7 separate regions of the Homo sapiens genome follow, and all the other regions are linked to region 4. Evidence: promoter capture Hi-C in 16 types of primary human blood cells and fetal thymus (Javierre and others, 2016). All regions are on one chromosome and are shown on one strand. The core of a region is centred on a gene start or on the middle of the fragment in contact, and the rest is flanking DNA. Distances in the headings are between cores, read along the strand shown. Region 1 has its middle 54 kb from the start of LINC02957. Region 2 overlaps LOC100129316 (a long non-coding RNA gene). Region 3 overlaps LINC02937 (long intergenic non-protein coding RNA 2937). Region 4 holds the start of AUH (AU RNA binding methylglutaconyl-CoA hydratase). Region 5 overlaps LINC02937 (long intergenic non-protein coding RNA 2937). Region 6 has its middle 47 kb from the start of MIR3910-2. Region 7 has its middle 71 kb from the start of MIR3910-2.

What was found. The method cuts DNA at HindIII sites, captures the fragments that hold promoters and counts their contacts. A CHiCAGO score of 5 or more calls a contact.
Region 1: a contact is called between a fragment that was not itself captured here and the fragment with the promoter of AUH in region 4, in 12 of 17 cell types (activated CD4 T cells, total CD8 T cells, naive CD4 T cells and 9 more). The highest score is 15.6, in activated CD4 T cells.
Region 2: a contact is called between a fragment that was not itself captured here and the fragment with the promoter of AUH in region 4, in 4 of 17 cell types (activated CD4 T cells, total CD8 T cells, megakaryocytes and 1 more). The highest score is 9.6, in activated CD4 T cells.
Region 3: a contact is called between a fragment that was not itself captured here and the fragment with the promoter of AUH in region 4, in 7 of 17 cell types (megakaryocytes, M2 macrophages, activated CD4 T cells and 4 more). The highest score is 9.5, in megakaryocytes.
Region 5: a fragment that was not itself captured here is called in contact with the fragment with the promoter of AUH in region 4 in 13 of 17 cell types (total CD8 T cells, naive CD8 T cells, megakaryocytes and 10 more); the score reaches 18.2 in total CD8 T cells.
Region 6: a contact is called between a fragment that was not itself captured here and the fragment with the promoter of AUH in region 4, in 2 of 17 cell types (M2 macrophages and megakaryocytes). The highest score is 5.4, in M2 macrophages.
Region 7: a contact is called between a fragment that was not itself captured here and the fragment with the promoter of AUH in region 4, in 1 of 17 cell types (naive B cells). The highest score is 5.1, in naive B cells.

What each region holds. Positions count from the first base shown.
Region 1 is chr9:91,049,260-91,052,806 of GRCh38, forward strand. No RefSeq gene overlaps it. Among named protein-coding and RNA genes, the nearest start is that of LINC02957, 54 kb to the left of the region's middle. The HindIII fragment of the contact is 2,105 bases long and covers 690-2,794 here.
Region 2 is chr9:91,065,703-91,068,966 of GRCh38, forward strand. LOC100129316 (a long non-coding RNA gene) reads right to left here. Exons shown (of 4, transcript NR_033912.1): 3 at 1,027-1,174; 4 at 1-914. Among named protein-coding and RNA genes, the nearest start is that of LINC00484, 52 kb to the right of the region's middle. The HindIII fragment of the contact is 382 bases long and covers 1,729-2,110 here.
Region 3 is chr9:91,082,230-91,085,395 of GRCh38, forward strand. All of the region lies in intron 5 of LINC02937 (long intergenic non-protein coding RNA 2937), which reads right to left. Among named protein-coding and RNA genes, the nearest start is that of LINC00484, 35 kb to the right of the region's middle. The HindIII fragment of the contact is 6,963 bases long and covers 1-3,166 here.
Region 4 is chr9:91,360,242-91,363,948 of GRCh38, forward strand. It overlaps AUH (AU RNA binding methylglutaconyl-CoA hydratase), which reads right to left and starts at 1,677. Exons shown (of 10, transcript NM_001698.3): 1 at 1,387-1,677. The coding sequence starts at 1,648. RefSeq lists a silencer at 1,408-1,847. The HindIII fragment of the contact is 2,357 bases long and covers 31-2,387 here.
Region 5 is chr9:91,099,647-91,103,333 of GRCh38, forward strand. It overlaps LINC02937 (long intergenic non-protein coding RNA 2937), which reads right to left. Exons shown (of 6, transcript NR_184105.1): 4 at 2,023-3,020. Among named protein-coding and RNA genes, the nearest start is that of LINC00484, 18 kb to the right of the region's middle. The HindIII fragment of the contact is 3,123 bases long and covers 1-3,004 here.
Region 6 is chr9:91,681,663-91,685,299 of GRCh38, forward strand. No RefSeq gene overlaps it. Among named protein-coding and RNA genes, the nearest start is that of MIR3910-2, 47 kb to the left of the region's middle. The HindIII fragment of the contact is 6,199 bases long and covers 1-3,637 here.
Region 7 is chr9:91,705,217-91,708,637 of GRCh38, forward strand. No RefSeq gene overlaps it. Among named protein-coding and RNA genes, the nearest start is that of MIR3910-2, 71 kb to the left of the region's middle. The HindIII fragment of the contact is 3,312 bases long and covers 502-3,421 here.

The DNA.
Region 1 (3,547 bases), core at 492-2,991, 310 kb before region 4:
AGCTGAAGGAGCTCATCACTACAAGACCTGCCCCACAAGAAATGCTGAAGGCAATTCTTCAAGTTGAAATGCAAGGGTGCTAAACAATAACATGAAGGCATATGCAAATGTAAATTTGGTAAAGACAAATATGGAAACAAATACATAATACCGTAATACTGTAATAAAAGCTTGTAAATCTCTTTTAACTCTAGTATAGAAGTTAAAAGACAAAAGTATTAAGAATAGCTATAATTAGGCCAGACTCCGTGGCTCATGCCTGTAATCCCAGCACTTTGGGAGGCCAAGGCAGGCGAATCACCTGAGGTCGGGAGTTTGAGACCAGCCTGACCAACATGGAGAAACCTCATCTCTACTAAAAATACAAAATTAGCTGGGCGTGGTGGCGCATGCCTGTAATCTCAGCTACTTGGGAGGCTGAGGCAGGAGAATCGCTTGAACCCAGGAGGTGGAGGTTGCAGTGAGCCAAGATCGCGCCATTGCACCCCAGCCTGGGCAACAAGAGCAAAACTCCGTCTCAAAAAAAAAAAAAAAAAAAGAATAGCTATAATTACCAAAATGTGTTAATGGATATGCAATATATAAGATATAAATTGTGCTATCATTTACATAATGTGGAATGTGGGGAGACTAAGAGTATAGTTTTTGTATATGATTGAAAGCTTGAAATAAGATGATTTACATAAGTAAGCTTTATGATAACCACAAAGAAATTACCTATGGTAGATACACAAAATAAAAAGAGAAAGGAAGCAAAACATATCATTACAAAGAAATCATCAAATCACAAAAGAAGACAGTGAAAAAACAAAAAAGGGACAAAAGAACTACAAAACAAATAAAGCAAATAAAATGACAATAGTCCTTGATTATCAATAATTTCTTTAAATAAAAATGGATTAAACTTCTTAATCAAAAGATATAAAATAGCTGAATGGATTTTAAATAACAATGGATTAGAGATTTAACTGTGCTATCTAGGAGAGACTAACTTTAGATTTAAGGACATACATAGGCTGAAAGTAAAGGGATGGAAAAAAAATATTCCACGCACATGGAAACCAAAAGAGAGTGGGGGTGGCTGTATTTATAACAAACAAAATATGCTTTAAGGTAAAACTGTCCAAAGAGACAAAGAAGGTCAGTGTATAATAATTAAAAGGTCTATTCATTCGGAAGATGTAACAAGTGTAAATATACACTGTATGCACACAACATCAGAGCACCTAAATAGATAACGTTGACAGGTCTGAAGAGAGAAATTGACAGCAATATAATAATAGTAGGAGACTTCAATACCCCACTTTCTGTAATAAATAGAACATCCACACAGAAAATCAGTAAGAAAACAGCGGGCTTTAACAATACTACATGCCAAATGAACCTAATAAACATGTGCAGAATATTTCATCCAATAGCAGCAGAATACACATTCTTCTCAAGCTCAGATGGAACATTCTCCAGGATAGATCACATGTTAGGTCACAAAAATAAGCCTTAACAAATTTAAGAAGATTGAAATCATGTCAAGTATCTTTTTAAACCACAATGGGATAAAACTAGAAATCAATAACAGAAGGAAAACCGAAAAATTCACAAATATGTAGAAACTAAACAACACAATATTGAATAACCATTGAGTAAAAGAAGGAATCGAAAGGAAAATAAGAAAATATCTCAAGACAAATGAAAATGAAAACACAACAAACCAAAACTTACGGGATGCATCAAAAGCAGTTATAAGGGAAAGTTTACAGCAATAAATGCCTACATTAAAAAAGAAAGATCTCAAATCAACAACCTAACTTTAGAGCTCTAGGAACTAGAACAAACTGAGCCTAAGTGAGCAAAGCGAAGGAAATAATAATTATTACAGCAGAAGTAAACAAAACAGAGAACAGAAACACATTTTTAATATCAAGGAAACTAAGTGTTTGGTTTTGGGGAAGATAAATAAAATTGACAACCCCTTAGTTAGACTAAGAAAGAAAGAGAGAAGACTCAATTAAATAAAATCAGAAATAAAAAAGGAGACATTACAACCGATACCATGGAAATAAAAAGAATTATAAGACATTATTAGGAACAAATTTCTGCCAATAAATTGGATAACCCAGAAAAAATGGACAAATTCCTAGAAGCAGGCAACCTACTAATACTGAATCATGAAGAATTAGAAAATCTAAACAGACTAATAATAAGTTAAGAAGATTGAATCAGTAATCAAAAACCTTCCCAAAACAAAATCCCAGGACCACACGACTTCACTGGTGAATTCTACCAAATATTTAAATAATTAGGACCTGTTCTTCTTAAACTCTTCCCCAAAAAATGAAGAAAAGGAAATATTTTCAAACTTATTTTAAGAAGCTATAATTACCTCAATACCAAAGCCAGACAAAGATACTGCAAGAAAAGAAAACTACAGATCCTGTATTTTTACATTCATTCCTGATTAACATAGACGCAAAAACCCTCAATAAAATACTAGCAAATTGAATTCAGCAGCCCATTAAAAGGATCATACATTATGATCAAGTGGGATTTATCCCTGGAATTCAAGGATGATTCAACACATGCAAATCAATAAATGTGATACATCATACTAACAGAATAAAGGATAAAAATCACATGATTATCTCAACAGAAATAGAAAAGCCATTTGAAAAAATTAACACCTTTTCATGATAAAACTTCTCAAAAACCTAGGTATAGAAGAAATTTACCACAACATAATAAAGGCCACATATGAAAAGCCCATCACTAACATCTTACTCAATAGTGAAAACCTGAAAGCTTTTCCTCTAAGATTAGGAACAAGGCAAGGATGCCCACTCTTACCACTTCTATTCAACATAGTACCAGAAGTTCTAGTCAGAACAATTGCTAAAGAAGAAGAAAAAAATGTCCACATTGGAAAGGAAGAAGTAAAATTACATATTTACAGTTGACGTGATATATGTAGAGAAACCTAAAGACTACACACACACACACACACACACACACACAAACACACACACACACTGGTTAAAACTAATAAATGAATTCAGTAAAGTTGCAGGATATGAGATCTACCTACAAAAACTAGTTGTATTTTAATATACAACTAGTATCCCCTAACAACAACTATCCCCCAAACTATCCCCCAACAAACTATCCCCCAAAAATTAAGGAAAAAATATCCATTTACAACATCATAAAAAAGAATAACATACTTAGAAATAGATTTAAGCAATGAGGGGAAAGACTTATGCACTAAAAACTACAAAATGTTGATGAAAGAAATTAAAGAAGACACAAATAAATGGAAATACAACCTATGTTCATGGATAGGAAGGCTTACTATTGTTAAAATGTTCCCATTAATAGTATATGGCTCAAAGTGGTCTACAGATTTAATGCAATCTGTCAAAATCCCAACGGCATTTTCTATAGAAACAGAAAAAACATTCCTAAAATTCATGGGATCCATGAAAAATCCTGAGTAGTCAAAGCAATCTTAAGAAAGAAGAACAAAGCTGCCTTCATAATACTTCCTGATTTCAAA
Region 2 (3,264 bases), core at 670-3,169, 290 kb before region 4:
AGTCCACAGAACCATGGCGGGACAGGAGGCATGAACTCCAGGAATCACCAGGGCTGACCTTCTGGCAGAGAGGAGACAAGTTCCGATTGGAAGTGAGGAGGAGTTCTGAGTAGGGGCAAGGAGGGAATAACATACAGGGTTTGAGACTATTTTATTCACCCGTTCACTCAGCAGACTTTCCTGGGACCTGCTGTGTCCCTGCTCACACCAAGTCCTCACCCTCTGGTGGGGTCAGGAGTCAAGAGATGGTGCTGGGCCAGGCTGGCACCAAAGGCTGGCTTCCCACCACCAGGAGCTCAGATCCGGACAATCCCCAGGGAATGTTTGAACCACGGCCCAAGTCATTGGAACCCAGAATGACTGCCAAGACACACTCATGGCATAATTTGCCCAGGGGCTTGGGCTTCCCACCTGCAGATGGAATATTTTCGGGAAACTGCACAGGAGGCTCGAAGGCCTGCCAACAAGTAATGCAAACCATCTAATCAGCCCACTGTGATGTCGGCACCCACTAGGAACCAAAATATATAACCAGAGTCATGGAGGTAAATTTCAGAAGACAATTCGGCCATCTCAGAAACAAGAAAGCCCCACAGGTAAGTAACTGTGAATGCAGGCTGCAGCTGGACCGTTGCGGCAGCCAGGGAAAGAGTTGTGGGAAGGAGTCATCAGGATGAGATAGAGAAGACAGCTGGAGACGGCAAGAAGTCAGCTGAACAGCTGAGATGGGCGAACAAGGAGCCACCGTTTACTGCAGCTCTGCTCCCACACGCTGCCGAACACGCCTCTGGGCTTTCCAGATGGTTTCTCCTGTTGATTCTGTGCTGAAAGCCCTGCCCCTTGGAGAAATACCTGGAGGATCCAAGTGGCTTCCATTCAGAGAAGGACAAATTCAAGAAGCTATGCTATGACCTCTGTGTGCAATGAAAAATCAAACTGGATTGATGTACCACAGTCAACAAGAAGGTTAAACGGAAGATATGAAAAATGCAATCATGCCTTGGACAACACATACTGGACACTTACCATGAGTGGGGCAGTGGAGTCAGGAAAGCATGCGATGTTAACTCACACGCCCAGCCGCTGCTCTCATCCAGTGTCTCATGGCTTCGAGGGAAATAATAGCAACAGCAAGCCACGTTAAGACAGAGTCTTGCTGCTTCTTTGAGTGACACTGGAAGAAAGCATCCCTGTTCAATAATGGGAGGGCATGTTGCTGTCTAAGTCTTGGCAGTATCAGAAATCCCCTCTGGCACAGCAAGTGGTCAGCACAAGGGTGTAGCCAACTGCACCCACACCAGGAGGACATGGTCTGGGGGGCCAAAGGTACAGGCTGATGCCTCATCCAGCTGGGAACCCATGCTCTGCACATGGCAGGCAGCACTTGAGCAAGGGAGGGCTACAGAGAACACCAGCTCTGGGGCAGATGGGACTCGGGGATCACCAGTGGTACCTTAAATAATTGGCTGCTCTGTTAAATGGAACCTCTCGCACCTGCCTTGCTGAGCTGCGGTGAGGATTAGAGACCACGTAAGTGAAGCACCCAGTGCCTAGCAGGCCTACAGTAGCAGCTGCCCGCAGGAGTAGCGGCAAAAGCAGTGGTAGAAGATGGAGTCTACAAATCTCTGCAACATGCAAGCTGGAGACACGCAAAGTTGAAACGTGGATGTGGATGTCCTCTCCAAGAATGCCCATGGGAATGCAGTCCAGACAGAAGAATGGAAGCAAAGCTTCTTCGGCCATCAGCTAGTTTTCTTGGGAGTGTTCAGGAAAGAAGGTTATCGAACTGCCTGGTCAAGGTCACTGCTGTGAGCAGACAGGCATGGCCCTGGAGGGCCTCCTGGGATTCCCACAGAAAGTCTCCCAGAGTTCTCCTAGAGGAGGCTGACCCTTCTCCACTGGCACCTGTCCCTTTGTTGGCAGGGGTTGCCCCAGGGACATAAACAACCTGCATCTTTCACTATGTTTGCAGACAAGCCATCTCTGCTGCTAAAAGACCACCAGTCACTCTCCTGGGTGGTGGGAGCCTCTCCAGCTTGCTACAGTGCATCCTTCCAGGGAAAGTGATCCAGCTGCCCTGAAACCCTGGCCTGGGGTTCAAAATTCTTGAAGCTTGGAATTGGGGGGCTGGCCTTTTAGCTCTCTCCTATGCATCTATGTGCATCATTAACTCCTTCTATGGGTTTTCTAAGCAAGATGTAAAGCTCCCTAAAGGGCAGAAATCTTGTCTCAGAGTTCCTGTTATTGTCCCAAGACCTGCACACATCTCTACCTATTTGAGGTGCTAAGTACAGTGAAGCACCATGCAACAACATTTCAGCGAAGGACAGGCTGCATATACAAAGGCGTTTTTAATGAGCTGCCCTATGGAGGGATACCATGTTTTATCTTTTATACCATATTTTTACTGTGCCTTATCTACGTTTAGATAGATTTAGATACACAAATACCACTGTGTCTGGTTGCCTGCAGTACTCAGTACAGTCCCATGCTGTACAGGTTTATGGCCTAAAAGCAATGGGCTGAACCCTATAGCCTGGGTTCATAGCAGGTTCTACCATCAAGGTTTGTGTGAGTGTATTACAGGATGCTTGCACTATGACAAAATTGCCTAACAATGCATTTCTCAGGACGTATATCTGTTGTGAAGCAATGCACAACTGTATTTTCTGACTACTGTTCTTGCCTGCTGATAAGTGAGAACCAAGTGCATAAACTCTAAGAGTCCCTTTGGCATTCTTGGTTTAACCTGTGTATTAGTCAGGGAAACAGAACCAATAGGGTGTGGGGGTAGGGGCAGTGGTGAGAGCGAAAAACAGAGAGAGTCAGGCAAGCCTCAAGATCGGTGGGGCTAACGGGCAAGCTGGACCCCGGGGCAGCCAATGGTGTCAGTTACTGTCTGAAGGCCACGGGCTTGAGACCCAGGGAGAGCTAGTTTTCCATTCATGTCCAAAAGCAACAAAAAAACCAGTGTCCCAGCCGGCTCGGTGGCTCATGCCTGTAATCCCAGCACTTTGGGAGGCCGAGGCAGGCAGATCACCTGAGGTCAGCAGTTTGAGACCAGCCCGACCAACATGGGGAAACCCCATCTCTACTTAAAAATACAACATTAGCCAGGTGTGGTGGTGCATGCCTGTAATCCCAGCTAGTCAGGAGGCTGAGACAGGAGAATTGCTTGAACCTGGGAGGCAGAGGTTGCAGTGAGCCGAGATTGTGCCATTGCATGAACCTGGGAGGCGGAGGTTGCAGTGAGCCGAAATTACG
Region 3 (3,166 bases), core at 360-2,859, 280 kb before region 4:
GAATGCCAACATCATGTTCATGCATAAAGGCAAATCTTTTACTGAATAATAATGCACAGCAAGTCGCAGGAGAAAACTTGGGGAAATGATTTCAGAATCCAAAGATTTCATGAATAATGACTACTTCATAGTCACAAACATTGTTTTTAAGTGTCATAAAGGTTCTAATATTTACCCTGAAAACTTATAGCAATATTTTCTTTTTTTTTTTTTTTTTTTTTTTTGAGACGGAGTCTGGCTCTGTCTCCCAGGTTGGAGTGCAGTGGCGTGATCTCAGCTCACTGCAAGCTCCGCCTCCCCCGGTTCACTCCATTCTCCTGCCTCAGCCTCCCGAGTAGCTGGGACTACAGGCGCCCGCCACTACGCCCGACTAATTTTTTGTATTTTTAGTAGAGACGGGGTTTCACCGTGTTAGCCAGGATGGTCTCGATCTCCTAACCTCGTGATCCGCCCACCTCTGCCTCCCAAAGTGCTGGTATTACAGGCGTAAGCCACCGTGCCCTGCCAGAAATATTTTCAAAGCCTGAAACCATTGTTGTTAGTGGACTCTAGATGGATCTCTTAATTGTTAGCCTTCACTACAGGAGAACACAGGCCAAAACCATCTGCAGACAACAAATCATACTCAGGTTGCCAAGAGCATTACCAGTCCCACGTTATTTAAACCATTTCACCAAGAGCTCTTGTTTTACAGCCTTCCATGATGTGTTGACATATTCACACACTTGTGACGTGTGAGCCTCCTCCTTCTTCCTTTTGGAGTGTGAGGTCTGCATCTGCCTCTTTCCCTTCCCTTTTCCCTTGTAGATCTTTCCTTTTTTTTTTTTTTTTTTTTTGAGACACAGTCTCACTCTGTCGCCCAGGCTGGAGTGCAATGGCACAATCTCGGCTCACTGTAACCTCCACTCACTGCAACCTCCGCCTCCCAGATTCAAGCGATTTTCCTGCCTCAGCCTCCTGAGTAGCTGGGGTTATAGATGCCAGCCACCACGCCCAGCTAATTTTTTTGTATTTTTAGTAGAGACGGGGTTTCACCACTTTGGCCAGGTTGGTCTCAAACTCTTACCTCAGGTGATCTGCCCGCCGTGGCCTCCCAAAGTGCTGGGATTACAGGTGTGAGCCACTGTGCCCAGCCCCTTGCGGGTCCTTTCAATGGCTTCTTGACAGTGTATCTCAAAGTCGGGGCTGGCCGACTGAGTCTCCCAGGGATTACAACTGTCCTGTCTGACCAACGAAGGCTTGTCCCAGACTGACAGGGCAAGTTACTTTGGTCACCCGCTGGGACACAGTGTCCACAATGTAATTTCTTTCTTATTCATCCAACCTGTTACATGGACCTAAAAATAAATTGGGGATTCTGTCTTTTGATCTGGATACAGCTTTCTTTAAAAAATTAGAAAAAGGGACAAATTTCATCCCATTAACGAAACATGCTAATACAACTGGTAATATATTTCTCATGTCCCCAAGTTTTAATAGTGGACAATTTAACAAATTTTGCACCTTTGGAGTTGGACTTGATGGTACATTGAATATCAAAGGGACTTAGTTGCCTCACAGTATTCACATGCTCATATGTATTCGTTCTCTACATTAATGGAAAAAACAAATTCTGTCAAATATTTAAAGAGGTTTATTCTGAACCAATATGAATAACCATGGCCCAAGGGAATAGTCTCTAGAGGTCCTAAGAAAGTGTGTCCCAAGCAGTTGGGTTATAGTTTGGTTTTATACATTTTAGGCAGACAGAAGTTACAGGCATCAATACATGTAAGGTTTACATTGGCTCAGCCTGTAAAGTTGTGGAGAGGGTCAGGGCAGAGTAGGGGTGCTTACAGGTCATAGTTGGGTTCAAAGATTTTCTGATTTGCAATTGATTGAAAGAGTTCAGCTTTGTCTAAGAACTTGAACCCAGCAGCAAAAAAAAATGCCTGAGTTAAGATAAGGGGGTTTCAAGAGCCAAGGATAGAGGGTAAATGTCTCTTTTCAGACCTCAAAAGGTGTCAGACTCTTAATCTCTATTTTGATGTTAATGCTGATCAGTTCTGCCTGAACTCCAGAATAGAGGGTGTATAATGAGGCATGTCTGACCCCCCTTCCTGTCGGGAATTCTGTTTTATAGGTTTCTCTGGGGTCCCCTTGGCCTACAGCGAGTCCATTCAGACAGTCAGGGGAAGGCTTAGGATTTTATGTTTGGTTTACATCTATTGCTGTCTAAAAAATTATCCCACAATTTATTGGCTGAAAGCAACAGTAAATGTTTATTATCTCACAGCCTTTGTCAATAAGGAATGCAGGTATGGCTTACCTGGGGGGCTCTTGTCAGGTTCTTACATGTGCTTGCGGCCTAAATGTCAAGTGAATGCTAAAAAAAAAAGAAGCCAGGCTGGGCACGGTGGCTCACGCCTGTGATCCCAGCACTTTGAGAGGCCAAGGCGGGCAGATCACCTGAGGTCAGGAGTCCCAGCCAACCTGACCAACATGGAGAAACCCCATCTCTACTAACAATACAAAATTAACCAGGCATGGTGGCCCATGCCTGTAATCCCAGCTACTCGAGAGGCTAAGGAAGGAGAATCGCTTGAACCCGGGAGGCGGAGGTTGCGGTGAGCTGAGATTGCACCATTGCACTCCAGCCTGGGCAACAAGAGCGAAACTCCGTCTCAAAAAAAAAAAAAAAAAAAAAAGAAGCCAAACACAAAAACACACTGGGATAATGTGACTTATAATAAGCAATACATATATTTGGTTTTCAACTACCTCTCTTTCCTGACATATGGCTCCTAAAACACTTGGAACCTCCCAACTGATAAGTGCCTTTTGTATGCTAAGGAGATGACTGGTGACTGGAGGCTTCTGGACAGCCTCAGGTTAGGGGCTGGTTTCCAGGGGGAACCAACCTTGTGATTAGAGCATCTGGACTTTCAGCCCCATCCCCAGCCTCCAGGGAGGGGAGAGGGGTTGAAAGTTGAGTTGATCACAAATGGCCAATGATTGAGTCAATCATGCCTATGCAATGAGGACTCTATAAAGGACAGGTTTTGGAGAGCTTCTGTATAGATGAACCCATGAAGGTTCCTGAAGGATGGTGCAATCACCCAACCAGATTCTTCTTGCACACAGCCCAGAAAAGTCAGTGCACTGAAAACAGCAGGCGTTGCAGCAA
Region 4 (3,707 bases), core at 427-2,926:
CTTAACGGAAGTGAAGTCCCGGCATGACTAAGCTTACCCAAAAGATGATGGCATTCAGGCTCTAATCACTCCAGTGCTAGTCTATGCTTCCAGCTGAATTTCTTACTATTCTGCTTATGCCACACTTGCCTTATGTTACGTCCCAAATACACCACACATGTTCACATCTCCATGCCTTTGACCATGTTCTTGTCTCTGTCTGGAATAATAAGTAAGGAATAAAGTCATTCATCACACTCCTGAAGCACTGCTACGTGCTAGTGGCAATTTACATTAACAATCTCATCTCATCTTCATAACAAACCTATAAAGTTGGTATTGTTTTTCCTGTTTTACACGTGAGATAAGTCTGCCCAAGAACCCTCACAAATGGCAAAATCCACTGCCTATTAAAGAATGCCTTGGAACCCCTTTCAAATGGCGAAACCCTGCAGGTATTACAGCCCTTTCCTCTTACCATGCCTTGAAAGTTCACACAGCCTACTAATAACCAGGATCTGCTTCACTACACTAAAACCAATCACGACTTACACGCTTTTCACTTCTGCTTAACAGATTATAGGTGCTCAACAAATGCATGTCAAAATTAAAACACTGGTCCTCTGGCTTAACCCGGAGGTTAAGGGTGGAAACTGCTATTCCACCCTTCACGACCCTTTTAGCTTTTCCCTGCACTGCCAGTGAAAGGAACTGAGCTGTAACAGTATTCCCTAGGATTGTCAGCCTCCTTCAAAGCCTTCAAAGCTCTGTATTGTATTGCTAATGATGTCTCCTCCCGTAGAAGGTAGCTCAAGGGCAAGATCCATACCATCCACATTCTTATCGCCAGAGCTGAGGAAAATAAAAAGTGCTCAAAATTGTTTAAATGAAGTGGAACAGTCCCTCAAGACTAACTTTCTAAGAGAAAATGAACAAGAGGAAAAATTGTTCCAGCTGAGCAGCTTCAAATTTAAGATTCTCCGTAATAATAAAAGGCAGTTTCACCGCAGCTTTTACAACTCCACCACTAATAGCTGAGTTTACAGAAAGCCATTACACAGCAACAATAAAGCCTGGTAGCAAGGATTAAATCCCCAGGGTATATATTGACCTTGGCTTGTCTGGAGCGGAGGGCGTAAGCTGCACTTCTGTTTGCCGCGCTGAATGCGGTCACTTTACAGGTAAGCTGCTCGGGGGTACACGTTTAGGTTATTAAAAGCAAGAAATAGGTGCACAAGGAAGCGGCCACGCTGGGTGAGTAGGGAGGTGAGAAAGGGGAGGGACCCAGGTTCGGTGCGCCTGCCTGACCTCGACCCCGCGTCCTGCCGGCGGACGCTGCACCTTATGCCCGTCCTGAGAGCGAGCGGCCGCCCGCTGCCCCGCGCCTGCCCAGCGTTCGCACCTCACCTCGGTTCTCCTCCTCCAGGTGCCGCACCCGCAGCTCGTCCTCCGTCTTCATCTCAGAGCTGTAGCCCCTTTTCGGGGCGGGACCCCCGGCCGCAGGTACCCAGCCCTGGGCCCAGATCGCCGGGCCCGCTCGCCGGCCTGCCAACGAGCCGGGCAGCCTCAACCCCGGGCAGAGCCACGCACTGCAAGCGGCCACCAGGCGGGCGCCGCCAGCATGCAGGGATCCCAAGGCCCCAGGTGCCGCCGCCACCGCGGCCGCCATGTTGTCTGTTTACGGCGTGGACCTGCGACGGCCGCTCCGCCCCCGCCCGGCGCCGACCTGCCGCGCGCACGCGCACGGCGTCCGGACCCGCCGCCTCGCTCCGGCTTGGCCCCGCCCTCCGGAGCCGTGTTCCCGCCCCTCACTGCCCCGCCGAAGCCCGGTGACCCGAGGCCTTGCCCCATTCTCCAAGCGAGATTGGATGGTTTGTCCAATACAAAAGGAAAGAAAGTAGTTTTCCAAGGTTATGGAATAATTCAGGGAAGACTTTTCTATAAGAACCACCCGGAGGGAATTATCTCCCCGTACTCCCTGGACCATGCCCTGCGGTCCTGTGTTAAGTAAGCTGCAAAAGTGAACAAAAAAGTTTTGTCTCCTCAAGTTGGCTGAAAGTGTGGCAGCCCATCGTTGGTCACTGCCTTACTTATGGATCTCAGGTTGTTGGTTTAGCGTCCCTGATAAGCATAAATGATGTTTACTACGTGGCGTTCAGGAAAAGGATGAGAACAGCAAACAGGCAAAGGAGTTCTTTCTCCAGCCCACCCACTCGTACCGATGTCCCATGGCCCTTCCTGGACGGAAAGAGTCTTACAGGGGTTCAAACAAGCCATACGCTGAGATGGGATTTAGAGTATGTAGCTCTTCCAGAAACTCGGGATATCAATTTAGTGTGTAGGTACTCATCAAAGCACGTTGCAGTATAATTAATGCTACCTAGCTTTTATCAGATCTCTAATGGGAAAGCTTGCATTTAAGAATACTGGGCAGGGGGCGGTGGCTCACGCCTGTAATCCAAGCACTTTGGGAGGCCGAGGCAGGTGGATCACCTGAGGTCAGGAGTTTGAGACCAGCCGGGCCAACGTGGTGAAACCCTGTCTCTACTAAAAATACAAAATTAGCCAGGTGTGGCGGCACACGCCTGTAATCCCAGCTACTCGGGAGGCTGAGACAGGAGAATTGCTTGAACCCGGGAGGCGGAGGTTGCCCTGAGCTGAGACTGCACCATTGCACTCCAGTCCAGGCAACAAGAGTGAAACTCTGTCTCAAAAAAAAAAAAAAAAAAAAAAAAGAATACTGTTTGAAAAGTGTGCTGCTATGAGCATACGTCTAGTGCCACAGAAATTTCTTGTATTTTTTAGTCCTAAGCAAAACATCCTTCATTATGTCCTCAACTTTTATCCAATGTAGAAACAAAAAGTAGACTGAATTCCATTACTGCATCTGCTGTAAAATGATGTTGAAGGCACTTTTATTTTTATTTTTATTTTTTATTTTTTGACAGGTTCTGGCTCTGTCGGCCAGGCTGGAGTGCAGTGGTGTGATCGCCTCTCGCTGCAACCTCTGCATCTCAGGCTCAAATGATCCTCCCACCTCAGCCTCCTGAGTAGCTGGGATCACAGGCACACACCACCACACCTGGGTAATTTTTGTATTTTTAGTAGAGATGGGTGTTTCTATGTTGGCCAGGCTGGTCTTGAACACCTGACATCAAGTGATCCACCCAACTTGACCTCCCAGAATGCTGGGATTACAGGTGTGAGCCACCATGCACAGCCCACTTTTTATTCTATCTTTTGTAAAGTTCCATGCAGGAAAATTTTCCTGAAGTTTACTACAAGGAAAACTTTGCTTCCTTTGTATCTTTCCTCTTTTCTGATAATGATGTACATGTTGACTGCTGGGTGTTGTGATTTTTATTGTTATGGTTTCTTTCTAATTTGGTCTTGTGGTCACCAGAGGGAGGGTAAATCTGGAGGTGACAGGGAGTTCAGCCAGTGGAAGGGGGTCAAGGAAGGGGCACTTGTGGAGCTAAAGCCTCTGTTGGGGTCCAGCGTGTTACCCAAGCAGTTTCCCATGGAAGTTCTAATTGGTGAGTTTAGAACAAGCAGGCACAAGTTCCATGGAGTCACCCTGTCACTGTGAGGTGGTCACTGGAGCCCATCTACACAGTCCATGTGGGTTATGGAGGTCAACAGGTGAGTCAAGCAGGCTGCATTTACCTGTCCCATAGGGAGATGGTCACCAGGAAGCAGTTGCATTAAGCAGATATCTGGATGGATCA
Region 5 (3,687 bases), core at 193-2,692, 260 kb before region 4:
GAAGGATGCCTGGGACACAGGTGGTTCTGCCAAAGAGCCAGAAGGATGGAAGGAAATCTCAAAATTCAGATGAGAAGCCAGACAGTAGGAAAGCCAAAAAAGCACAATCTAATAATTTAGAAAATGAAAGAGGAGGAGGGCTGTTAAAGATATTCTCTGCTCCTTCGTAACATCTCAGCTCCTCTCTTCCTATGTAGAAATAAACGCTCACTGCAAAAGGCAATGATTTGCTTAGAAAAAATTCATTTAAAATGTCTTGCAATTATTGACACTGTCATCAGATCTTGGCAGTAGCAGCTTATTATTACCTCCTATGTATGTTTGCCGGGAGAAGAGTCTCATTGTTTAGGAGGGAGAAATAAAGCAAAAGTCCAAGGGTATTGTGCTTGAAATACATGCCTAGAGATATGGAGTTGATTGCCCCAGAAAAAAAAGGAAGCCTATGTGTATATTATTATTCACCTCGGTAGCCCGAATCCTCTATTTCTCTCTCTCTCTCTCTCTCTCTCTCTCTCTCTCTCTCTCTCATACAGTTGAGCTCAGCTGGGCAGCCATCCAAGTGATTCATATTAAATTCTAGCTATATTCAGCACAAAAGTCATCTAGCATCAGAGGATCAAAGTTACATCAACTAACAAGCACTGGGGGATTGATAAGCTGCTAAAATTAGGTCATTGCATAGCAGCAGCCTTTGATGGATGAAGTGAAATTTAGCCGCGGGTTTGCTATTTAAAGATCTGTTACAGCACCCTTTCCTGTAGCCACAATGAACACACAACAAAGTATCATGTGTCTGATTAAATGTTTAATCATCGCTGTTGAGCTTGCCGACTGTGGCAAAGATTCAGTTTCCTTAAGAGTGCATTCAGCTCTTGGGCCAAGCCAGTACCTGCATTTTAATTCCCACATCCAGAGCCTTACAACAGGGCCCATTTCTCCCTCCTCAGGATGAATTCTGTAAAGTTAGTTTAATCGTTTTTAAAAGCATTTGGTCACACAGTTCCACCTCTAAGTCCCTGTCAGTTCAGTGTTTCAAAACTCTTCGTCAGCGTCACACACACACACACACACACACACACACACACACACACACGGCTCCAGACTGCCCAGTGGATGCAGCAACTGGTCTGGTGAGCGCATTTCTGTTTCTTGCTCATTCCCTCAATTTCAGAATCACACACCTGTCCAAAATGGCTCACGTCTCTCTCTTCTTTGGGACTGTTTTTGTTTCCAGATGGGTTAAGGTGGGGATTTGACTTCATTTGGTTTAGGTTTTGGCTGTGGCTGAGGCCCCAGGCATGTGGCAGTCACCAGTTCTGATTTCATAACTCCCATGGCCAGGCCAGGAGCCACACAGGAAGCCGGAAGGGGCCTCGGGTCAGTGTGTCCTGTCCCAGCAGCACGGGGTGGGGGACTGTGTGCCCCCAGGTGTCCTATCCACCCCTCAGCTCCAAAGGGCATGTGGACATGCGTCAGGTCCCCTGAGGCCATCTACAAACACCAGATGGACTGTTGAGCTTCCCAGGCTCAGAACCTAAGAACCCGCAACTGGAAGGAAAAGGCAGCAGAAGATGAGAAAAACGGTCAGGGAGGAAAGAAAACACTTTAACCCAAACAAAGTTTAAAATAAAATAAAGAGTGGTGAACACTCAGCTGGGAGAGGAGAGGAGGCCTCTGTGGGCAAAGGGAAATGCTGCTGAGAGGCAGCTAAGCCTGAGTCTGGAAGACTGGAGGGAGGCAGCTCCAGGGTGAGCACCTGGAGTGCACAAGGCTCTGGAAGGGGAGGGCAAGGGGTATCACCCTCCCCAGAGCCCCAGGGAAGCCTGATTCATCAGTACACCCAGGAAGGGGCTGGCTGCAGCGATAGCCCCCTGCCCAGTTGTCCCAGATGAACCCTGGGCTTGGAAACAGTCCAGGGACACTGGCAGACTGAGAGCCACCGGAGAGGGTCACCCCGTCCCCCTCCTGCCTGTAGGGGCACACAGGTTTCCCACTAACCCTCAGTCCCAGTTGACCAATTACCAGATAAGAAGATTGGATCCTCCTATCCTTACAGACACAAGGACACAGGTGGGAATGGCTTTTCATATGCAAATTCCATGCCATTTGCTTCCTATTCCAGCCAAACAGTTGTGCAGAAGATAAAACGAATCAGGGAGTGCTCCAGGGAGTGCTCCCGGCTCTCAGGAGTACTGTAGGGAGTGGAGACAGGAAGGAAGCCATGACAGGGAAGGTGACAATATTGGCCCGGTGCTCTAGATGCAGTTCTGCAGGCGCTCACTGAAGAGACTGCTGGAGAAGGCAGGAGGATGTGCTCGCGGTTTCCTGTGATGTGGTGAGGGCAGGTGGAGCTTCAGCACCCAGAGGCTGGAGGGAGATCCTTAGGTGGCCCAGGTGACGCAGGAGCCTGGGCTTTCACTCAGATTCAGACCAGAGAGACAAAGTAGGAAACTTGATTTTAAACCTGGGAGTGGCTGAGTGCCTTGTTCTTGGCTATGTTTCAGTGTGATCTTACACATAGCTACCCAGCACATCTGTCTGTCTTCGTTTATGTTCCTTCAGAAGCCAACCCTAAAATAACATCCAAGGGCAGGCAGCAAATTTGGGAAGTTATCTCTGGGAGCACTGTAGGGAGTGGAGACAGGAAGAGAGACAGGACAGGGAAGGTGACAGTAAAACAGCTGCCCCATGGACAACTAGAGCCTAATCCCTCTTGGGAACTCCAGGTTCCAGTCCCATGAAGGAAGGTAGCTGGAGTGTGTGAGCCACTCCCATAGCCACTGGTGGAACACTGCTGGGTGCAGGTAGGGCATTACTTCTCTGGCATTCCAACCTGCTGAATCTTCAGGAAAATCAGGCTCTAATGGCCAGAAAAAGATGCTGGAGGGTGGCAGTTTACAGGCATGCACTTTCACAGTAGTAGGATGGGGCTAGGAGCTGAAGAGCATGTACACAGCACTTGCTACAACATCCAAGATTTTATTTTCAAGAGATGCTTTCTGAAAGCTTAGAGTTGAGCCCTATGTCATGGGAGATAGGAACAAAAAAACCTCATTAGAGTCACAAGTTGTTTTCAAGGTTAATTCAAAGGGTCACGTCTATTCATGTTCAAAATCCCAGCCATGTGTATCTTTACACACAGTAGATGCTCAGATCATCCACCTAGGTGATGAGATGTATCCCGGGCATGTGGGCACTTCAACCAGAGGCCTATCCTTGAGGCCAGTAAGTTACTGCACGTACATTACACCAGTATGATGCTGTCATTATTAATCACCTTCATCTATGTCATTTAAATTGTATCAGGATGGTGTTGTAGGTCATGTTGGCTGATTTTATTTTCCAAAGACAATGATGTTGGTATGAGCCATCCCACAAGCTCTCTGTATCGTGTGATGCTAACCTTCTCTCAAGAGGTGGGATCTATGTTCCCTCCTGTTATGAGCTGAATTGTATTCCCCCAAAATTCATATGTTGAAGCCCTAACCCCCAGTATCTCAGAATGTGACTGCCTTTGGAGACAGGGTCTCTAAAGAGATAAGTAAGGCTAAATATGGTCCTTAAGGTAGGCCCTAACCCAATATGACAGTGTCCTTATTACAAGAGGAGATTAGAACACAGACAGACACAGAGGGATGACCACATGAAGACACAGGGAGAAGACAGCATCCACAAGCCAAGGAGACA
Region 6 (3,637 bases), core at 504-3,003, 320 kb after region 4:
CCAGCTTTTCCCACTTCCCTCCCGGGGGCTGGCACAGAGGCCCCGAATCGCGGTTAGAAATTAAGCATGCGCAAGCACTTCTCTTCACACGAAATAATTCACAGATGAAGAAGCGCCCATAATGGGGCCACCCATCTGTATTAATTGTGAGAAAATACGCTCTCCCACCAGCCAAGGGCGCCGGGAGTCAACACAGGCGCTGCCAAGGCGCAGAGGAGCGGGCGCTGCCAGGACTCGAGCGCCATCTACAGCCCGCGGAGGCGCCGCACGGACCCCACAGGCAGGAAACAGCCTCGGGCAGCCGGGCTGCCAAACTGCACTCCCTCGAGAGAGATCAGTGTAGACGGAGAATTTCAGTCCTTTTGCTAAATTTATATATAATTTTATTTACCAAAATAAAATTTTATTTATAAATGTATAGTACAAATATATGTATTTATACAGAAATATATGCTGTATATATTGCGTGCATGTATATGTGTGTATATATATATTTATGTGTGTGTGTGTTCTTAAATATACTTAAATAGACAAGTGTTTTAAATAGAATCGGTCCGATCTCCAGTGCTGCCACTGAATCTCCGTTTGATCTCTGATGATCGCTAAACTCTGGGAACCCGAGGTCTCCACTTGTCCGCGGAGACTGGTCCCACTTATCCAGCACGGCTGTTGTAGTGATTGAGAGAGATAATGTACATAAAACGCTTACCCCAGAGTCTGAGACAGAGAATTATAACACTATTAAGAATGTGATGACAACCATTTGTTCATGTACCTAGTTATTTAACCAATATCTCTTGAACCTGCTGTGTACCCAGCCCTCGCTGGTTATTGGGGGATACAGCAGTGACCTGGAAAGACAAGGACCCTTCCCTGCTGGAGCTGCAAGCTCAAGTCATCTGACTTTGAGAACAAATAAAACAGGCAGGGGAAAGTAGGAACTAGCGCATGTTTTAGAACCGCGGGTGAGCATTCAACTACAAGTTAATGTAATAGGCCCTGGGAAAGAGTTAATATAAACATTATCTATTTCTTATCTGGATAAAACAAACCCGGTGGAATTGGTTGGAACATTCCAACCATCGTATGCATTAGCCAGGAAAATGACTTTCAGAAATCATCTGTAAGTCAATGTATTAGTTTTCTATTGCTACATAACAATTACTTCAAACATTATTGCTGCTTCAAACAACACGCATGTATCATCTCTCAGGTTCTGGGGGTCGGAGTACAGGCATTGCTCAACCAGGCCTCTGCTCTGGGTCTCTCAGGCTGAAATCATGATGTCCCCAGGGCTTGGTTGTGAAAGCTCCCTGGGGTGGTGTGTTAGACAAAGTTTGTGTCATTGCGTGTCTGGGACTGACTCATGGCAACTTGCTTTTTCAAAGCCAGCCAGGGAGAGAGGGACCAGAGTGAGTGAGCTGGCAACAGAGTCTAATCTAACATACCCTCACCACCGGAGTGACAGCCCATCACCTTTGCCGTATTGTGTCTGCCTAAGCAAGCCACAGGTCTCACGCACAGTCAAGGCAGGGGTCACACAAAGGTGTGAACATCCGGATGTGGGGACCCTGGAGGAGGTCACCTAAGGTTCTGCCCACCACAGACACTGTCACAACTAATTCCCAAAACATATAAAATAGAAAAAGGAAAAAATATAGTGATTATTTCTCAAGTACATCTTATTTCACAAAATAGAGCTAATCCAAGATGTGCCCTGCACCTCACCACAATGATTCCCCCATGTAAATTCTGAAGACTGGGTTCATTACCCAACAATTCAGAATTTTTGCAATGCTAAATTTCATGATGGGTTGCCTGGTCAAGAAAAGCTAGGGCGTTCCAAAAGAAAAATAAACAACAGAATGCATGATGAACTCTCTTAGGACTTGCAGAACCATGTCTCACATATGAAGAGTAATCTCATTTTGTAGATAAATGGAAACTACCTATCAATCAAATATTTACTGACTGGTTTCCTAGGAGGGTGACCCTCAAGTATCCCAGTTCCTCCCCATTATCAGAAGTGAGAGAAAACAGCACTGGTCATGTGGCCTTACAAGCAATTCAGAGGCACAACAAAAAGATGGCATTCTTCTGCATACAGCTCTACTGCCCAGATGATAAGGTTAGTAGATTAGGACTCATTTATTGCGATATAAGAATGTAATTTCTCAACCTGACTTAATGTATCTGCAAACATGACAGCATAAAGAATAAAATATTAAAAATAGAATATATTTGTTTTAAAGAAGCATTTGTGGGTTTTTTTGTGGTTTTTGGTGGTTTTTTGTTTGTTTGTTTGTTTGTTTGTTTTGAGACAGGGTCTCACTCTGCCACCTGGGCTGGAATGCAGTGGCGTGATCTCAGCTCACTGCAACCTCCGCCTCCCAGGTTCAAGTGATTCTCCTGCCTCAACCTCCTGAGTAGCTGGGATTACAGGCGTGTGTCACCACGCCAGGCTAATTTTTGTATGTTTAGTAGACACAGGGTTTCACCATGTTGGCCAGGCTGGTCTCCAACCCCTGGCTTCAAGTGATCCACCTGTCTTGGCCTCCCAAAGTGGTGGGACTACAGGCATGAGCCACCGCGCCCAGCCAAGAAGCATTTGTTTTTAAAATGTGTTTAGAAGAATCAACGAGTGGAGAAAACAGTCTGCAAATAGACTTCTTCCTGTGTTATGCATACTGTGACGGTGTGTCACGGAAGTGCGTTACACTCATAGAGAAACATCAACTTTTAATAAATGGTGCTGGACAATTGCCTATCCTGCAGAAAAATAGGTACGTTTTATTTTCCTACCTCATATCACACACTAAAATAATATATTCTAGATTAAATACCTAAATGTGAAAAGCAAACTTTAAATTTTTTGTAAGAAAATATTGTCTGGTATTTATGAGACATCTGGATGTGGAAAGAATTGTTGAATAAGACACAAGTCATCATGTAAAATCTGGTTAACTCCATTATGTTAAATGTAAAAGATTTCGTGGGCGAGGTATGGTGGCTCATGCCTGTAATCCCAGCACTTTGGGAGGCTGAGGTGGGCAGATCACGAGGTCAGGAGATGGAGACCATCCTGGCTAACATGGTGAAACCCCTTCTCTACTAAAAATACAAAAAATTAGCCAGGTGTGGTGGTACGTGCCTGTAGTCCCAGCTACTCAGGAGGCTGAGGCAGGAGAATCGCTTGAACCTGGGAGGCGGAGGTTGCAGTGAGCCGAGATCGCACCACTGCACTCCAGCCTGAGTGACAGAGAAAAGAAAAAAAGATTTTGTGAGACAGATATTATAAAGAAAGATAAAATTTGAGCAATATACTAGAAAAGATATTTTCAATTCATCTAGCCAGCTAATGATTAGTATCCAGAAGATGTAAAGAGTTCATGTGGGACAATAAGAAAATGACAAACTACTCAGCAGAAATGGCCAGAAAACATGAAGACTCAATTGATGGGAAAACACCCAAATGACCAGAAACTGTGAAAAGGTGTTTGACCTCTCCAGTAATCAGGAAAAAAAAAATGAACACCAAATTAAAAATGTCCATTTAAAAATCTAAATGAGGTGCCATTTCATACATATCCAGTCAGCAAAAGTAGCAGAACAAAAGGACAATACCAGTCACAACAGT
Region 7 (3,421 bases), core at 908-3,407, 350 kb after region 4:
GCTGGTCTTGAACTCCTGACCTCAAGTGATCCACCCACCTCAGCCTCCCAAACATTTTGTTTATTTTTAAACATGAATCCAGATGTCCATATTCCTCCCAAGATTTGAGAAGTCTTCAGCCATTATTTCTTTAAATAGGCTTTAATTTCCTTTGTTTCCTCCTCCTAGAAATCCTCAAATGAATATATTCATTTGTTTGATGGTGTCTTGTAGGGCTTGTATACTTTCTTAACTCTTTTTCATTATTTTTTTCTTTCTATTCCTCTAACTGGCTAATTTCAAATGACCTGTGTTTGAGTTCACTGACTCTTCTGCATAATTAAAAAAAAAAAAAAATCTGCTGCTGAAGCTCTCTATTGAATTGCTTAGTTCTGCCGTTGTATTCTTCAGCTCCAGAATTTCTGTTTGATTCTTTTTTCTCCATTAATCTTCTTATTTTATTCATGCATTGTTTTTCTGATTTCATTTAGCTGTCTGTCTGTGTTCTCTTGCATCTCATCAAGCTTCTTTAAAATGAGTGTAGTTGTCCCTCAGTATCCATGGAGGACTAGTTCCAGGACCTCCCATGGATATGAAAATCTGTGGGTGCTGAAGTTTCTGATATAAAATGGCATAGTATTTGTATATAACCTATGCACATCCTCCTGTATACTTTAAATCATCTTAGATTACTTATAATACCTAACACAGTGTAATTCTATGTAAATAGTTGTTATACTGTATTGTTTAGGGAATAATGACAACAAAAAGCCTATCTGTGTGCAGTTGGAGACACGAAAATAGTTTTGATCCATGGTTGACTGAATCCATGGATGCAGAACCCACAGGTACAGAGGCCTGACTTCATTTTGAGTTCTTCATCAGGCAATTTGTAGACCTCCATTTCTTGGGGTCTGCTACTGGAGCTTTATTAGTTTCTTTTGGTAGTGTCGTGTCTGCCTGATTCTTTGTGCTCCATGTAGGCTTGCATTGGTGTTTGCACATTTGAAGGAGCAAACCCTTCTTCTAGTCTTTACAGGCTGGTTTTGGCAGGCAAAGACCTTCTGCTGCCATCCAGACCAATGGGATTGTTTCTGGGATCACAGCTGAGTGGGTTTGGGGCCAGGTTATGTGGCTGTTGCTGGGTCTGCATGGGGTCCATCATTGGTAGGCCTGTTACCAGACATTCAGGTGGGTGATAATTCAGCCTTTGTCCCTGGGCAGATGGAACTGCCTCCAGAAAATTGGGCAGTAGGTCTGGCACTAGGACAGTAATCCACTTCAGAGTGCTCAGTTGGGTCTGCAAACAGTGGGCCTGTTACCATGTGTGTGGATGAGTGTGGCTTCTGCCAGGTCCCTGAGACGTCTCCTATTGGGTCACTGGGAAAGTCTCTGGGTGGGGAGGACTGACTTTAGGCTATGGCTGAGTGGGGCTAGAACTAAGTCACAAGGCTGCTTCAGAGTCTACAGCACAGACTGAGGTCTGCAAGTCTGCCTCCAGGGGTATGGATGGGTATGCCTCTTGCTGGATTCCTTGGTGGGCAGGACTGCCCCAAATCATGGCTTAGCAGAATTGGGGCTGGGTCACAGGTCACTTCATTATCTCCAGTTGGACTGAGGTCCAGGGTCTCAGTTGGGTGTGTCTCCATCTGATGCCCTTGGTGAGCAGAACCATTCTCAAGCCATGGTTGAAAGGAGCTGGAGCTTGTTACGGGGCTATTTCAGGATCAGCAGTCAACCTTCAGTCAGTGGGCATGTTACATGAGGCATGGGTGAGCATGACTCCTCCTAGGGCCTTTGGTGGATCATGTTGGTGGCAGGACCAAGGCCAAATGGGGCTGTAGCTGAGTCCACAGGGGAATAGGCTGTTTCCAGGTGTGTAGCTGGGACCACAGTCAGTGAGCCTGGCCACCTGGGACTGCCATAGTCAGTGAGCCTGCTTTCTCAAAATGGCCCTCCTTGGTCATGGCCTCCACCAGAGTTTTGCAACCTCCTACCTGGATCCCAGAGCTTGCACACAGGCATTTTGTCTGTGGATGGCTGTAAAACTGTTGTTGCTGTAGGGGATACAAGAAAGGGAACTCCTTTTCCACCATCTTGCTAAAGTTACCAGAAAATCAGTTATCACTTTTTTTTTTTTTTGAGACAGAGTCTCGCTCTGTCGCCCAGGCTGGAGTGCAGTGGTGCAATCTCAGCTCACTGCAAGCTCCACCTCCCGGGTTCACGCCATTGTCCTGCCTCAGCCTCCCAAGTAGCTGGGACTACAGGCGCCCGCCACCATGCCCAGCTAATTTTTTTGTATTTTTAGTAGAGGCGGGGTTTGACCGTGTTAGCCAGGATGGTCGCAATCCCCTGACCTCATGATCCACCTGCCTTGGCCTCCCAAAGTGCTGGGATTACAGGCGTGAGCCACTGCGCCCAGCCTCTTTATCACTTTTAATGTCAGAAAATAATGAAAAAATAAATAAATTCAGTTTACTATTCATTTAACAAGTTACTAGCAGAAGTAGAACACTCAGAAAGGAAAGGGTCGAAGACGAGGCCTGAGTGAGGATGTCAGAGGGAGGAAAGAATGGGGGTGGATTGCAGAGGAGAACAGAGTTAAGAGTTGAGGAAGCTCTAAGGGCTCTGAAAGCCAGTGTCACAGCAGTGTGGACAGGAGGATGGGGGTTGGGGATCTTTCCTGTTTGTGAATATAAATTGTGCTTGCTTTTTATTGTTTTTAAATAAGATAGTAGTTAAGCTCTAACTTTTCCTTAGAATGCAGCTTTAGCTGTATTCCATAATTGTATTCTTCTTTCATTAATTTCTAGATACCTTGACATTTGATTTTGATTTTTTCTTTGATCCAGGGTTTACCTAGAAAAGTGTTCAAGTAGTTATTATTATATATTTTTTTTGAGATAACGTCTTGCTCTGTCGCCCATGCTGGAGTGCAGTGGTGCGATCTCAGTTCACTGCAACTTCCACCTCCCTGGTTCAAGCAATTCTCCTGCCTCAGCCTCCCGAGTAGCTGGAATTACAGGTGTGTGCCACCACACCTGGCTAATTTTTGTATATTTAGGAGAGATAGGGTTTTGCCACGTTGACTAGGCTGGTCTTGAACTCCTGGCCTCAGGTGATCCACCTGCTTCAACCTCCCAAAGTGCTGGGATTGCAGGCGTGAGCCACCGCACCTGACTGGAAGTAGTTATTTTTCTGGTCATATTAAGATTTACGGGCCAGGCATTGTGGCTTGTGCCTGTAATCCCAGCACTTTGGGAGGCCAAGGTGGGAGGATCACCTGAGGCCAGGAGTTCAAGACCAGCCTGGCCAACATGGTGAAACCCTGTCTCTAATAAAAATACAAAAAAAATTAGCCAGAGGTGGTGGTGGTGCATGCCTGTAATCCCAGCTACTGGGGAGGCTGAGGCATGAGAATTCCTTGAACCCGGGAGGCAGA